Regions from separate parts of the Homo sapiens genome. Here all the other regions are linked to region 1. Evidence: promoter capture Hi-C in human tissues and cell types (Jung and others, 2019). All regions are on one chromosome and are shown on one strand. The core of a region is centred on a gene start or on the middle of the fragment in contact, and the rest is flanking DNA. Distances in the headings are between cores, read along the strand shown.

Region 1 (2,700 bases), core at 33-2,532:
CACAACACCACTCATCTCCAGAATCTAAATCATCCTAAACTGAAACTCTATTATCCACTGAAATATAACTCCTCATTTCCCCTTCTCCTGGGCACCCTCTCCACCCCTGCTCTTGCTACCATTCCACCTTCTGTCTCTAGGAGTTTTGACTACTCTAGGTACTTAATGTAAGTGGAATCATAATATTTGTCCTTTCATGTCTGGTTTATTTCACTCAGCTAAATCACTTTAATCAACACCCTGGTTATTCAGTAGCTGGATTCTAATTTGTATTCTACTCTATATGCTGTATTTTAAAACAAATGTCTTGCTTTGTAGTTCATAATCTTTCCACCTAATCCTTAAAGACACTTCACTCTAGCAAATTATAAACTCAAGAGTTCCTAAGAACAATTTAGCCTATCGGTGTCTCTCATAAAGAGCTTTTATTGATCTACTTACTGAAAATGTCTTTAGATTGTGAATATTTTCATTCCATTACAGTTCATGGAACGTAGACCCTTTGTAAAATTCCACCTAGTATCTAAATAGAACTCAAGCAGGAATCAAACTTATTTGATCACCCAGGAAAATAGTTTATTTATTTGGGTTGCTAATATGAAGACTCTCTCTTTTGATACTATATAATTTCCCGATCTGAGATAGGGCTGAATTTGCTCTAAATAAAGAGAATTTTAAAAATAACAAAACTTATCTTTAGCTGGGGGAAAGTGCAGGCTGGAAACTACCTGAGAGACGTGAAGGTTCTCTCACCTTTCCCTTGTGGGCAGCCCTCAGTCATTAGGGCTCTACCAGCAAGTCAAGTACTGTTGGACAAGACACTAATCCTCTGGCGGTCTCATTGGGCTCCATTAGACCAGCCTGTGTTTACAAACCTCGTTCACATCACAGCATACACAGAATATGATACTGGTAGGGCACTTAGGTAAACTGAGGAGGTAGTGTGCTCGGCACCTGGAACCTACGGGCCGCCTGGTGTCGCGCACGCGGGAGTGTACGCTCTCAAAGAGCGATCCATCCGGCAGGACCGTTCCAGCTGACAGGCCACGGCCGTCTTACCGGGGACGAGCTGGGGTTCCCGCTGTTTCTGAAGTCAGCGGTCTTTTCCTCCTTGTAAGAAATAAGGTCTTTATATCATAAAGGTAAGCAAAGAATAAAAAGGCACAAAGGCCGCAAGCAACGCACACACGCAAAAATCGAACTACAGCACTCGACCCGCGCATTCTCCGCCGACCTTACGTCTCTCCCAGCAGGCTCCGGGAGCCACCGCGAGACTTCATCAATTCTCGCGAGATTTACCGGCAGCCATCTTCTTGGGGGTGCTGGGAGCCGGGAAGACCCCCTGAATCGTTCCCATTGAGCTGCCCTTCGCCTTCGCTTTCTTTACTTTTGCCTTTTCGACGTAGCCAACAAGCACCTGGTCCCGAGGCTGAGAGAAGGCTCGGGTCTAAGCGCGTGTCGCGCTTCCGGTCTGGGTAGATTTGCTGGGGAAGAGGGAAGGGGGAGGGCCCGGGCAAACCGTTGCTGTTTCAGCCCGGGCTGGGGGCCGGGGACGGGGAGCTCCTGGCACCCCGTGCACTTGTGGCCTGCGGCGGTCCTTGCAGAGCTGTTCGCCGACCGGGGCCCGCGGGAACCTGCCACCGGCGCCTCCCACCGCGGCCCACGCGGGCGGCGCGCGGAGGAGGGGGCGGGGGCAGCGGCGGCTGTAGCGGCCGCGACCTGGGCGGGCGGAGGAGTGTGACGGGCCTTAGGGCCGCTGTGGATGGTTTCTAAAATGATCATTGAAAACTTCGAGGCACTCAAGTCCTGGCTCAGCAAGACTCTCGAGCCCATGTGAGTATCCGGGGGATATCTCTTTGCAGGGATGGCAGTGGGAGATAGGCGGACCCAGAGATCTGTGCAGTTTCCCCAAGTGCCTGCGGTGGAGGCCGAAGCGGTGAACGGAGGTCCCAGGGTTCTGTGGCTTCTCCTCCTCGTCCACCTCGCTTCCAGATTCAGGATACCCCCGAGAGCCTGAGTCGAGCTTTATTTTATTGCTGAGCTGCTCTCGTTTTCCCGTTATATATAGACCGTCTCCAACCCCCACCCGCAATATTTTCCGGGGGCCTCAAAATCGGTTTATTTTAGTGAAACCGACTGTATTTTACTTCCTACAGATTATTTTACCTTGTTTTTCTAAATGAAGTAGACGGCCTTTATTGGGGATTCGGGCAGTTCTAGCTTAAATCACTCACGTTTCACCTAAATATAATTCCTGAAAGCAAGGCCACGTCTCCCATGTGCTGTCTGGCTCATCTGCACCTCTCTTCACTGATTGAAGATGTAACAGGTGCTGAGGTGGCCAGTAAAATTCCCCTTTCCCGCCTACGCGTTCGTTAGCTTGGAGAGGAGGAAGAAAATTGAATCTTCATCCATATGGAATATTTAGCAGTTTTAAGTGGGATGCTATAGATAGATTTTGTGTTGGGGGCTGCGGTTAGAGTGCTGAAATAGTCTTAGATTGGAAAATTTAAGGAGTGTTTTGACGACTTGTTAATACAAAATATGACATGGACCAAAGTGCTTAATCAGAATTGGTTGATTTACAATAATGCAATGGGGAAAATTCACGTATTTAATAAAGTTATTAGGTACCTACTGTATACTACGGGAGGCTTTGGGGATAGAGCTTTTAAATTCTAAAATCGACAAGACATAAAT
Region 2 (2,874 bases), core at 41-2,540, 1.0 Mb after region 1:
TTATGATGTGACAGATGTTTCACTACACTATTGTGAAATGAATAGATTATGAGAAGTAATTAGATGTACATTGGAATCAATGCTGTTATCATCGAGGCCTTCGGGCGATGCAGTAGATGAGAGTCTTGGCAGCAGGTGGTCCAATGGCTCCGAGACAGGAAGACACACCGCGGGAGACTGAGTGACAGGTTTCACAGATCCAGGGGGTGAGAGATCTGAGCTGGGGCTTGCATTTGTAATCTTTACTCATGTATAAATAATAACAACTCCACCATTGACTTCATATGCTATGTCATAGCCTCTGTTACCCTCACACACGTAGAATAGTGCTGGTTTCAGACACGCAAAGTTATTCTTGGTCTCCGTGTTTTCAAATATGCATATGTATGTTCAACTGTAACTGACAACTCTATCATTTTTTGAGGGAAGATTTTTAGAGCTAATCATCTGATGATTACATTTATTTTTAATGCTTGGCATTGAGCCGCCATTGTACAAAACTTCCTATAGGTTGCAGATCAGAAGCTGCAAAGTACTTTAACTGCCTTTCATCAGGAAAATGATTTCTTCTCTCTGGCTCAATGACTAACGTTTAAAGACACACGTTTGCCTCTCTGCTCTGTGAAATCCCTTTGCAGGAGACTTGGCAGGGTCACCCTCCATCCTTGAAGCAACCATATGGAGCCTGCTGGTTTCAAGAGAAGGTTTTGGTTTCTGCCAGTTTCCCGGGTCAGCTATTAGCACACTGGGGAATGTTGAAGTTTCCAAGCACAGAATGAAGAGGGAGGAAAGAAATGGGTGATTAGGGGAATTAAGTAACTGATTCCCTGTGTACATCTGCCACCCCTGCAGGAAGAAATATCTGGTAAAACCATTTATTAGCCCCTATCTGCTTAAAACAGCAATGGTATTTATGTAAAAGAAGGCGGGGAGCTTTATTGAACAATCTCAAAATAATATGTAGCTCTCATAATTAAAAAGATCTTAGTAGAAAATATGTAGCATATGCTGTATACTCATTCACATGTATACAAGTTTATAATACTCTTATGTTTCTACCTCATTAATTCTATTAGTTCTTCTATTAGAAGAAGTTCTTCTATTAGTTCTTCTAATTCATTAGTTCTTCTATTAATTCTTTTAATAAGCATTCATTGAACCTTTGCTATAACCCTATTACTTGCTGTTACGGATATGAACTTAAGTGATTATGTCATGAAGAACGCAATTGTGTGTGTGTGTGTGTGTGTGTGTGTGCGCGCGCGCGCGCGCGCGCGCATGCGTGCATGTGCGTGCATACATGCTTTCATGTTACTCCCTGTGTGCTTTCCACACAAGAAACTAGATATTTTGTTGGGGTGGTCTTTTTGGGTGCTTTCTTTGAGGCTAGTATGCATTATGTATCAGACTTCACAGAACAGAGAATAAAAATCGATGTCATCTAAAGAAATAATATAGTACTATGATAGAAAAACCCTTTAAAACCTAAGGACAGCTAGTTGGCATTCTTAACTAATCCATGGATGTTTTGGCATAAGCAGTGGCTGCAAAACATGTTCTAAGATGATAAGATTTTGTTTCTTATTAGTAATCTGCTTAATGAAAGCCTAGAAAAAATAATGTACTCCACATGCCACAGATTAAAATAAGAGTGATAAAGATCTAAATGTATGAAACACAAAGCTTTTGCTTTTCAAAGTTCTGCTGTATTGGCTGTGTCTGGGGATCTCTAGTGTAAATCATAAGCTCATATATTTCTAATAGAGCTATGGTTGATCAATCAAGACTTCCTACCAAGGCAATGATGCTTAATCCTTCATATATAACAGGACCTCATCAAATGGGCACAAGAAACAATCTGAAGAGGAAGGATCTGTGCAATGGGTCTATCCCCAAATGAGCAAGAAGTTACAGTAATAAAAGCAGCCACTTATGGAATACTCTGCTAAGTGCTTTCCAGATATTATCTCATTTAATCTTACCAATAGCCTTAGACAGTACATTCTATGATTATCTTTATTTTATAGATGAAAACATTAGAGTTTGGGTCAAGAAAATCACCCAGAGTTGTTCAAAGAATGTCAAAACCTGGATTTAAAACCAGTCCTCTGATTTCAAAGCTCATTTGCTTTGTCACCATATTTCAGGTCATATATTTTTATTTGAGTTCTTCGCTTTTTCTGTGGGACTTAAGGTCTGACAGGTTTCAAATAAACAGGACGGTTATTCACTCTTGGTGGGAGTGTAAATTAGTTCCACCATTGTGGAAGACAGTGTGGTGATTCCTCAAGGATCTAGAAACAGAAATACCATTTGACCCAGCAATTCCATTACTGGGTATATACCCAAAGGATTATAAATCATTCTACTATAAAGGCACATGCACACGTATGTTTACTGTAACACTATTCACAATAACGAAGACTTGGAACCAACCCAAATGCCCATCAATGATAGACTGGATAAAGAAAATGTTGCACATATACACCATGGAATACTATGTAGCCATAAAAAGGATGAGTTCCTGTCCTTTGCAGGGACATGGATGAAGCTGGAAACCATCATTCTCAGCAAGCTAACACAGGAACAGAAAACCGAACACCACATCTTCTCACTCATAAGTGGGAGTTAAACAATGAGAACACCTGGACACAGGGAGGGGAACATCACACATGGGGGCATGTCAGGGGTTGGGGGGCTTGGGGAAGTATAGCATTAGGAGAAATACCTAATGTAGATGGTGGATTGATGGGTGCAGCAAACCACCATGGCACGTGTATACCTATGTAACAAACCTGCACGTTCTGCACATGAATCCCAGAACTTAAAGTATCATTAAAAAAGAAAGAAAACATTCATGGTAATTGTATTCTA
Region 3 (2,700 bases), core at 39-2,538, 1.2 Mb after region 1:
TATACTTTATAATAAGTGGGTGCAAGTGTAAGTAAAGTGTTTCCCTGAGTTCTATGAGCTGATCTAGCAAATTATTCAAACCTGAGGAGGGAGTCATAAGAGCCTGCATTTTGTAGCTGGTCTGTCAGAAGTACAGGTCACAACATGGGACTTGCAGTTGGTATCTGATGTGGGGAGGTGTGAGTCTTGTGGAACTGAATCCTCAATCTGTGAGATCTAACACTATGTACAGGAAAATAGTGTCAGAATTGAATTACAGCACACCCAGCTGGTGTCTGCTGAAGAAGTACTTTGTGTATGGGGAAATAATCCTCACACATCTGGTGTCAGAAGTGTGGTGTTGAGTGGTTTGTGAGAGTAGGAGAAACACTTTTTTTCCTATCCCTAATAGTCTCTAATATAAATCTCCTTCTGATAAGGAAAAGTAGAACATTTGTTGAATTCTTTGGAGTTTGTAGGTAGCAAAGAATACCTTTGTTAATGCAAATCCAATTGATTTATTCAGAAGACAGCCAGCAAGAGAGGTTTCTGCAGTAAGTCAGACTATGACCTAAGGTTCCACACAAACATACTCTATGACCCTGAAGTTTTGATGGCAGTAGAGATGCTTCTGATAGGTAAAAATGCTGTGTGGAGTAACTGATAACCCTCAGTAGGAGGGTAACAATGCAAATACCTCAGTTTCTGGAGCAAGACTATACCTTCTGAGTCACAGAAATTCTCACTGTTTGAGAAACAGCTCCTGGTACACTATTGAGTACTTGATCCTGACACACCAAGGAAATATAAAGCCCTGATACGCAACGAGGTGAAATCCTGACAAATGGAAATTGAAAAGTGGCAGATAAAATTCCTATTCCCTTCTCTTCTGAACAGGCTATCTTTAGATTCAGTTTTTCTTGTTATTTCTCAGAAGACCATCTTGCAAGACGAAGTGACCAGTTGTACTGGATAGCTCAGTAGCATCCTCACTTCAGTCTTCCTTCTGCCCTGTGTTGCTTCCTTTTTCCCTCACACCTAATTTTCTGTGATAACATTTTCAGGAAATTTGTAGCCCACAAACATCGCCTCAGTTTCTGCTTTCTGGAAAGACCAAGAAAGGGTCTCCTACTTAAGACCCTTCAGTGGTTAAGCCTGTTGTTTCAGCTCTGTCTTTCTAATCACCTCTCTCAACACTTCTTGCCTTGCAGTTTATACTCTAATTATATCAAATTGCTTTTGCTTCCCTATAGAAATCAGGCTGTTTCATACCTTTAGACCTTGACTTATGCTCTTTACTTGGTCAAGAATGCCATCTTTCATTCCCCTTTAATTATCATGTAGTAATCAACTCAGAGGTCACTGCCTTCTGCATTTCTTTCTCAGGGTAAGAGGTGTGAGATGTAATGATCTGTCATTTGTCTTATAGGAGATTGTCTGACACACCCTATGCCACTGATACACTGAAAACATCGCCAGTGTAACAGGACCCTGAATCTTCATGATACTTACCTCCTATGCTTCGATAGGCCTGTGTCATGCAAGGGCTCCAGGATAAACTGGACGGCCATTAGGAGACAATATGTGGTAGGGTGGATCACCTATGAGAAAATGTGAAGGACATTTTGAAGCTATTTGTTAAGTGTCTGGACCCTTGAATTTAGACTGTTGACTGAAATAAGGAAAATCCGGGCTGTGCCCCCACCCCACCCCACACACAATTTGGACAAGAAGAAAAAGAACTCACTTGAGAGGGGTAAGATTTAAGAATATGTGCTCTACTTTTAGATGAAGAAAGGAGAAATCCTGCAAGTGCAGATTTCTGATCCAAACTTTGAAAACTTGGAGAATGTTATGCAATAAAGAAATCAAGGTAACATTTTACAAACCAAATGAAGGCTGTTAATTACAGCTTAGGCTATTTAGATTTGGTTCAACAGTCATCACATTTACAGTAAACTTCACCTTTCACTTGTGGTAGAACAAATTGATTCTCCCTTTAGTTCAAATATGTTTGAGTGCTTTATCTTTGCTATGTGCTATGCAAGGAACTTAGAGTACAGAGAAGAATCACACAGGCTCTTTGCTATCAGGGAGCTTCTAGTCTAATCTGAGGCATTGCCCAGTCCCACTGATCATGGTTGGAGAGCTATGAGAGAGGTATGCCAGGGCACTGTGGGAGACTAGGAACAAGGCTGTCCAGTGTGCACGAGCAGAGGAGGCTCCCTTATGACCCTTGCACCCTAAAGTACGGCAAGACAGAAACATTATGAATGAGGATAAAGACCCTGTCTGTAGCAAGTAGGATCCATAACAATGAATACTGGGTATGTATGTGAGTATTCTACTGCAGAGAACTGCAAGATTTTGAGGAAAAGTGGGCCCATTTAATATCATTGTTAGCGGTCTTTTTCTCTCATAACATTTGTTCTCTATCATGCTCTTTTCTAACTCAGTAAAAGACTTCTGGGTATGTTGAAGTTGTTAATAATTCCTATTTAGTTTTGTTTTCCATAAACTTGGTCAATTTTTTCTAGCATAAAAAAAAGTTCTTTCCAGCTGTGATTTTAAAGAAATAGCCTCTTCCATTTGTGTCTTATGAGTAAGCCAACATTTCAAATTTAGCAGTTGAGCTAAAACTTCTACACTTTTTTCTCCTTCAGAAAACATCTTCCTCCTTTCTCACTGGTAACTCTGTTTGTTTAAAGTCCTAACTATGGA
Region 4 (2,889 bases), core at 158-2,657, 1.6 Mb after region 1:
TATATGCATTCCTTTTTCTTCACAGCCTAGCCTGTATCTGTTACTTTTGACATTTTAATAATAGCCATTCTGACTGGTGTGAGATTGTATCTCATTGTGGTTTTGATTTGCATTTCTCTAATGATTAGTAATGTTGAACATTTTTCTTATGTTTGTTGGCTGCTTATATGTCTTCTTTTGAGAAGTGTCTGTTCATGTATTTGGCCCATTTTTTCATGGGGTTGTCTTTTGTTTGATGAGTTGTTTAAGTTCTTTATAGATTCTGGATATCAGACCTTTCTCAAATACATAGGTGTTCAAGTATTTTCTCCCATTCTGTAGGTTGTCTATTTACTCTCTTGATATAATAGTTTCTTTAGCTATGCAGAAGCTCTTTAGTTTAATTAGGTCCCATGTGCCAGTCTTTTTTAACGTTGTTGCAATTGCATTTGAGGACCTAGTCATAAATTCTTTCCTAAGACTTATGTCCCAAATACTGTTTCTGAGGTTTTATTCTAGGATTTATATAATTTGAGGTCTTGCATTTAAGTCTTTAATTCATTTTGAGTTAATTTTTGTATATGGTGAAATGTAGGGGTCCAGTTTCATTCTTCTGCATACCCAGCTATCCCAGCACCATTTATTAAATAGGGAGTGCTTTCCCATTGCTTATTTTTGTCACCTCTGTCAAAGATCAGATGGGTAGATGTGTGACTTTATTTGTGGGTTCTCTAGTCTGTTCTATTGGTCTGTGTGCCTGTTTTTATACCAGTACCAAGCTGTTTTGGTTACTGCAGCCCTACAGTATAGTTTGAAGTTGTGTAATGTGATGCCTCTGGCTTTGTTCTTTTTCCTTAGAATTGCTTTGGCTATTCAGGCTCTCTCTCTTCTCTCTCTCTCTCTCACTCTCTCTCTCTATATATATATACACATATGTGTATATATATGTGTATATATATAAAATACATATATATAATATATGTAAACTTTAGAAGAGTTTTTTTAGTTTTTTTTTTTTTAGTTTTTCATTGGTGAAAAAATGAAGTTTGTAGCTTGATAGGAATAGCACTGAATCTGTAGATTGCTTTGGGCAGTATGGCCATTTTAACAATATTAATTCTTCCAATCCATGAGCATGGAATTTTTCTCCATTTGCTTGTGTCATCTATGATTTCTTTCAGCAGTGTTTTATAATTCTTGTAGAGATCTGTCACCTCCTTGATTAGATGTATTTCTAGGTTGTTTTTTCTTTTTGCAGCCATTGTAAATTGGATAATGTTCCTGATTTGCATCTCAGCTTGAACATTATTGGTGTATAGAAATGCTGCTAATTTTGTATTCTGAAACTTTACTGAAGTTATTTGTCAGTTCCAGGAGTCTTTTGGTGGAGTCTTTAGGGTTTTCTAGGTATAGAATCAAATTGCTAGTGAATAAGAGACACTTTAACTTCTTCTTTTCCTATCTGGATGCTTTTTATTTCTTCCTCTTGCCCTGATTACTTTGGCTAGGACTTCCAATACTGTATTGAATAGTAGTGGTGAGAGTGAACATCCTTGTCTTGTTCCAGTTCTCAAGGTGAATTATTTCAGATATTGCCCATTCAGTATGATGTTGGCTGTGGGACTGTCATAGATAACTCTTACTACTTTGAAACATGTTCCTTCTATGCCTAGTTTCTTGAGGGTTTTTCTTAATCATGGAGACATGTTGGATTTTATCAAAAGCTTTTTTCTGCATCTATTGAGATGATCATATGGTTTTTGTCATTAACTTTGTTTATGTGGTGAATCACCTTTATTGATTTGCCTATATTGAACCAACCTTGAATCCCAGGAATGAAGCCTAATTCATCATGGTGAATTAACTTGGTGATGTGCTGCTGGATTTGCTAGTATTTTGTTGAGGATTTTTGCCTCTAAGTTCACCAGGGATATTGACCTGTAGTTTCCTTTTTTTATTTTGTCTTTGCCAGGTTTTAGTACCAAGGCAATACTGGCTTCATAGAATGAGTCGGGGAGGAGTCCCTCCTCCTTGATATTTTGGAAAAGTTTCAGTAGAATTGACACTAGTTCTTTGTATGTCTGGTAGAAACTGACTGAATCCATCTAGTCTGGGGTTTTGTTGTTTGGGTTTTGGTTGGTAGGTTTTTTATTACTAATTCAATTTCAGAACTCAGTACTGGTCTGTTCAGGGTTTCCATTTCTTCCTGACTCATTCTTAGAAGATTTTGTGCTTCCAGGAATTTATCCATTTCCTCGAGATTTTCTAGTTCGTGTGCATCAAAGTTCTTCATAAGGTTCTCTAAGGATCTTTTGTATTTCTGTGGGATTATTTGTAATATCATCTTTATCATTTCTGATTTTGCTTATTTGTATCTTCTATCTTTGTTAATCTAGTGAGTAGTCTATTGATTTTCTTTATCCTTTCAGAAAAAAACAACCAACTTTTGGCTTGGTTGATTACTTATATAGATATTTTGGTCTCAGTGTCATTCAGTCCTTCTCTCATTTTAATTATTCCTTTTCTTCTGCTAGCTTTGAAGTCAGTTTGTTCATGTTTTTCTAGTTCATCTAGGTGTGATGTTGATTATTGATTTGAGATCTTTCTAACATTTCGAGGTAAGTGTTAGCACCATAAACACCACTCTTAACAATGTTTTTGCCACTTTCCAGAGATTTGGGTATATTATTCCTCTGTTTTCATTTATTTCAAATAATTTTTTATTTCTCCCTTAATTTGTTGTTTACCCAAAAGTCATGCAGCAGCAAGTTGTTCAATTTTCCATGTAATCATGTGGTTTTGAGGGATCTTGGTATTGATTTCTATTTTTAGTCCACTGCAGTCTGAGAGTATAGTTGGTTTGATTTCAATTATTTTGAATTTATTGAGACTTACTTTATGACCAAGTAT
Region 5 (2,852 bases), core at 267-2,766, 1.1 Mb after region 1:
ATTGATTATGTGTTGAAATGATAATTATTTGGACTATTGTGTTAAGTCAATTGTATTATTAATTAACTTCACTGGTTTATTTTTTACATGTGACTATTAGAAAATTTAAAGTTACGTATGTGACTCATTATTTTCTATTGGACAGTGCTAATCTACAAGGTAGTCAATACAGTGATAAGCGCTGAGGATTCTAAGATGAAAACAACAGTGACTTGGCCTTCAAGAAGCTTAGTTTAATGCTAACATGGAAAGTGTGGAGTAGAAATTCTAACTATATTATTTTCTAGTGGCTTGATATCCAAAGCTAAATGCCTTTTCATATTGCTTTTTCTTTTGAGTCAGTATTCACAATATATAGAAGTCATTTAGCCCTTGCAATGTTCTGAGGAACTCCGTGTTTTTGTCAGATTACCCTTGCACTGGGTTGAAATAACTTGGATGCTAAGTGGAATCGGCCTATTATGCTAACGTTTTACTTCAGGAAGACTTCAGTCACTATTTAAGACCTCAGCCTCATGGAGAGGCGGAGCCCACTGACAAACCTCCAAGGCAGGCACTGGAGCAGGTTTCCCAGAGATGGTTGTTCTGGTGGTTGGCATTCCACATCCCTACTTAGCTTAGGGCTGATGACAGGACCACTCAGGGATAGGGGTACACTCAGTTGTCTTCTCTGGGAATGGAGTTTTTCTCTATAGCTGTGACTTTGGCCTCATGAGCTCGATACTCCCACCGCTATTGATCTGGTTTAAATGGCAAATAGTGAAATATGCTATCCTTGGAAAAGAGACGTTATACAGGGAGATTTTGCTCCATGAAAGCAAGCCTACCTCACTCATATGATATCCATGGCAGTGCTGGACCACATTAATTATTTTCCAGAACCATGAACAGTAGTTTAGCTTCCCAACAAACACTTTTATTTCTGCCACGGCCAGATGCTCTTCTTGTCTCCACAACAAAATGTTTTAATGATTATAAGCAGTTCTATTTTTTCACATTTTCCTCAGAGTGGCTTTTATTAAAGTCAGTTCATGTATGCTTGCACATACACAAAACTTAATTTCAAGGAGGAGTAAAAGGAATTTTTGACATCCCAGCAATGGCATTTTCTTTATGACAGTTCTAAAATGTTTTGCCTGTGGGGAAAAGAGGTGGAGTTAGTGACTTGGCAGTCACTAAGGCGAATGCAGCCTTGTTAGGATAGACAAATCCAATTGCTCCGAGTTTTACTGTCTGGTCTAGGCTCCCCTGCTTACCACCTGATTGGATAGTGATGGGGATTGAATGACAAGAATGACAAAGACCACAGGGCCATCGCTTTGTGGCTGGAATTGATGGCTCTGTAAGTACAGTTTTTCACCTTCAATACATTTAAACACCCAATGGTTAACCTAAAGTACCTCAGATTTGCTTCTATTCTTATTTACACCCCCTTTACAACTGAATTAAAGTCCCAAAAGACAAACATTTTTATTGTTCAGATGGTTAACTAAAATCTTTATTTCTGTAAACTTTGTTTTTAATTTCCCACATTACACTGACCTATGTTTCCGTAAACTTTTGATTAAGAATGTTCATATGATATTTTACTAAAATGTACAATTGAGCCTCTGACTCCACAGTAGATAGCCAATTCGCTCACATTGTATAACATTTCATCAATTTAATATGTTTTGTTTTTCACAAATATTATTAAGAAAAATTGTTATAATATTAACTAGAAAAAATAAACAATATTAAGCCCTTCCCTAGTTTAGTTTATGTAATAATAGATTACTCTGGATCATTTTCTAGTAAACCCAAATAATAACCTTTGAAGGTAATTCTTATTACAATGGTAAACAGAATGAAATTTCATTGCTCAGGATGACATATTTTAATCAAAATGTCTGATGTCAAATGTTTAAAAATTAAAATATGTCAAATGTTTAAAAATTAAAATATTGCATCTTTGTTTTTATATGTTGTACTATATAATAAAAAATGGTTGAGCTAGCCACATTTCATCGGCAGATAAAGCACAGTATTAGCTGAAAGCTTTAGTTGACACATGCAAAAGCCCTTTCGATTATCTTTTATATTACAGTGGGAATAACATTTATGGCAATTATTTTAGGAAAATTAGTTACCTAGAAGCTCTGCAGTTGCCTTCAGTCAAATCAGAGCCAATTTTAGATTAAAGATCATTTTGGTCAATTTGAAAAAGAAAAAATATAAGGTTTGACATATATAAAAATAAATGGGTTATGGGAAAGCCATATCAGATTGCATCTTAGGGGTATTTTACCATTTAAGTAAACTTATACTTGTATAAAATAGCACTTTAACAATAAGGAAAACATGAAGGCAGTAAGGTTAGGTTGAAAATCAACCTGTAAACTACCATGCTATTTTGGTAGTTAACAGAAGCAAAATTCTTATAACTATATTATATCTTAATTAGAAAATACATTAAATAATTAATTACATGAATCCATAAGCACTTAATTTTATAGTTATCGCTAGGTACAGTAAAGGATGAATTACTAATATTTTCTACTGTTAATACATGGTTAATTAATGATTAAACAGTGTTTTACTGCTCACTCATTAATGATTTATTACAGTTACTTAAACAGTTTTCCAGATTTGAGTGCCTTAAATAGACATCTTAACATTACTTTCCAGGTTTAACTTCTTTCCACTGTATTGGTTACTGTGTGTTCCATTGTATTATTCTGATCTCCTTTTAACTATGAATAGCAAATATCTTAATTACCCGAACAGTGAGAGCTAATCCATTGGCTTGCACGAATTTGACTACCAGAGTTGAATATGAAAAGGGGCATGGATCTTTTTGTGTCATTTCACCT

What was found. Contacts are between HindIII fragments. The study calls those that stand out against the background at their distance.
Region 2: a fragment that was not itself captured here is called in contact with the fragment with the promoter of RBM26 in region 1 in 1 of the 25 tissues and cell types used here (dorsolateral prefrontal cortex).
Region 3: a contact is called between a fragment that was not itself captured here and the fragment with the promoter of RBM26 in region 1, in 1 of the 25 tissues and cell types used here (lymphoblastoid cells).
Region 4: a contact is called between a fragment that was not itself captured here and the fragment with the promoter of RBM26 in region 1, in 1 of the 25 tissues and cell types used here (dorsolateral prefrontal cortex).
Region 5: a fragment that was not itself captured here is called in contact with the fragment with the promoter of RBM26 in region 1 in 1 of the 25 tissues and cell types used here (lymphoblastoid cells).

Annotation. Positions count from the first base shown.
Region 1 is chr13:79,404,837-79,407,536 of GRCh38, reverse strand. It overlaps RBM26 (RNA binding motif protein 26), which reads left to right and starts at 1,282. Exons shown (of 22, transcript NM_001366735.2): 1 at 1,282-1,833. The coding sequence starts at 1,763. RBM26-AS1 (RBM26 antisense RNA 1) reads right to left here and starts at 1,228. Exons shown (of 7, transcript NR_038991.1): 1 at 1,060-1,228. RefSeq lists enhancers at 997-1,296, 626-1,617 and a silencer at 1,527-1,726. The HindIII fragment of the contact is 11,102 bases long and covers 1-2,700 here.
Region 2 is chr13:78,380,446-78,383,319 of GRCh38, reverse strand. All of the region lies in intron 3 of OBI1-AS1 (OBI1 antisense RNA 1), which reads right to left. Among named protein-coding and RNA genes, the nearest start is that of POU4F1, 220 kb to the left of the region's middle. The HindIII fragment of the contact is 4,502 bases long and covers 1-2,874 here.
Region 3 is chr13:78,188,488-78,191,187 of GRCh38, reverse strand. It overlaps OBI1-AS1 (OBI1 antisense RNA 1), which reads right to left. Exons shown (of 6, transcript NR_047001.1): 2 at 1,492-1,580. Among named protein-coding and RNA genes, the nearest start is that of OBI1-AS1, 130 kb to the right of the region's middle. The HindIII fragment of the contact is 4,851 bases long and covers 1-2,700 here.
Region 4 is chr13:77,794,070-77,796,958 of GRCh38, reverse strand. No RefSeq gene overlaps it. Among named protein-coding and RNA genes, the nearest start is that of EDNRB-AS1, 23 kb to the left of the region's middle. The HindIII fragment of the contact is 7,775 bases long and covers 1-2,889 here.
Region 5 is chr13:78,300,678-78,303,529 of GRCh38, reverse strand. The region is part of intron 3 of OBI1-AS1 (OBI1 antisense RNA 1); the gene reads right to left. Among named protein-coding and RNA genes, the nearest start is that of OBI1-AS1, 250 kb to the right of the region's middle. The HindIII fragment of the contact is 4,582 bases long and covers 1-2,852 here.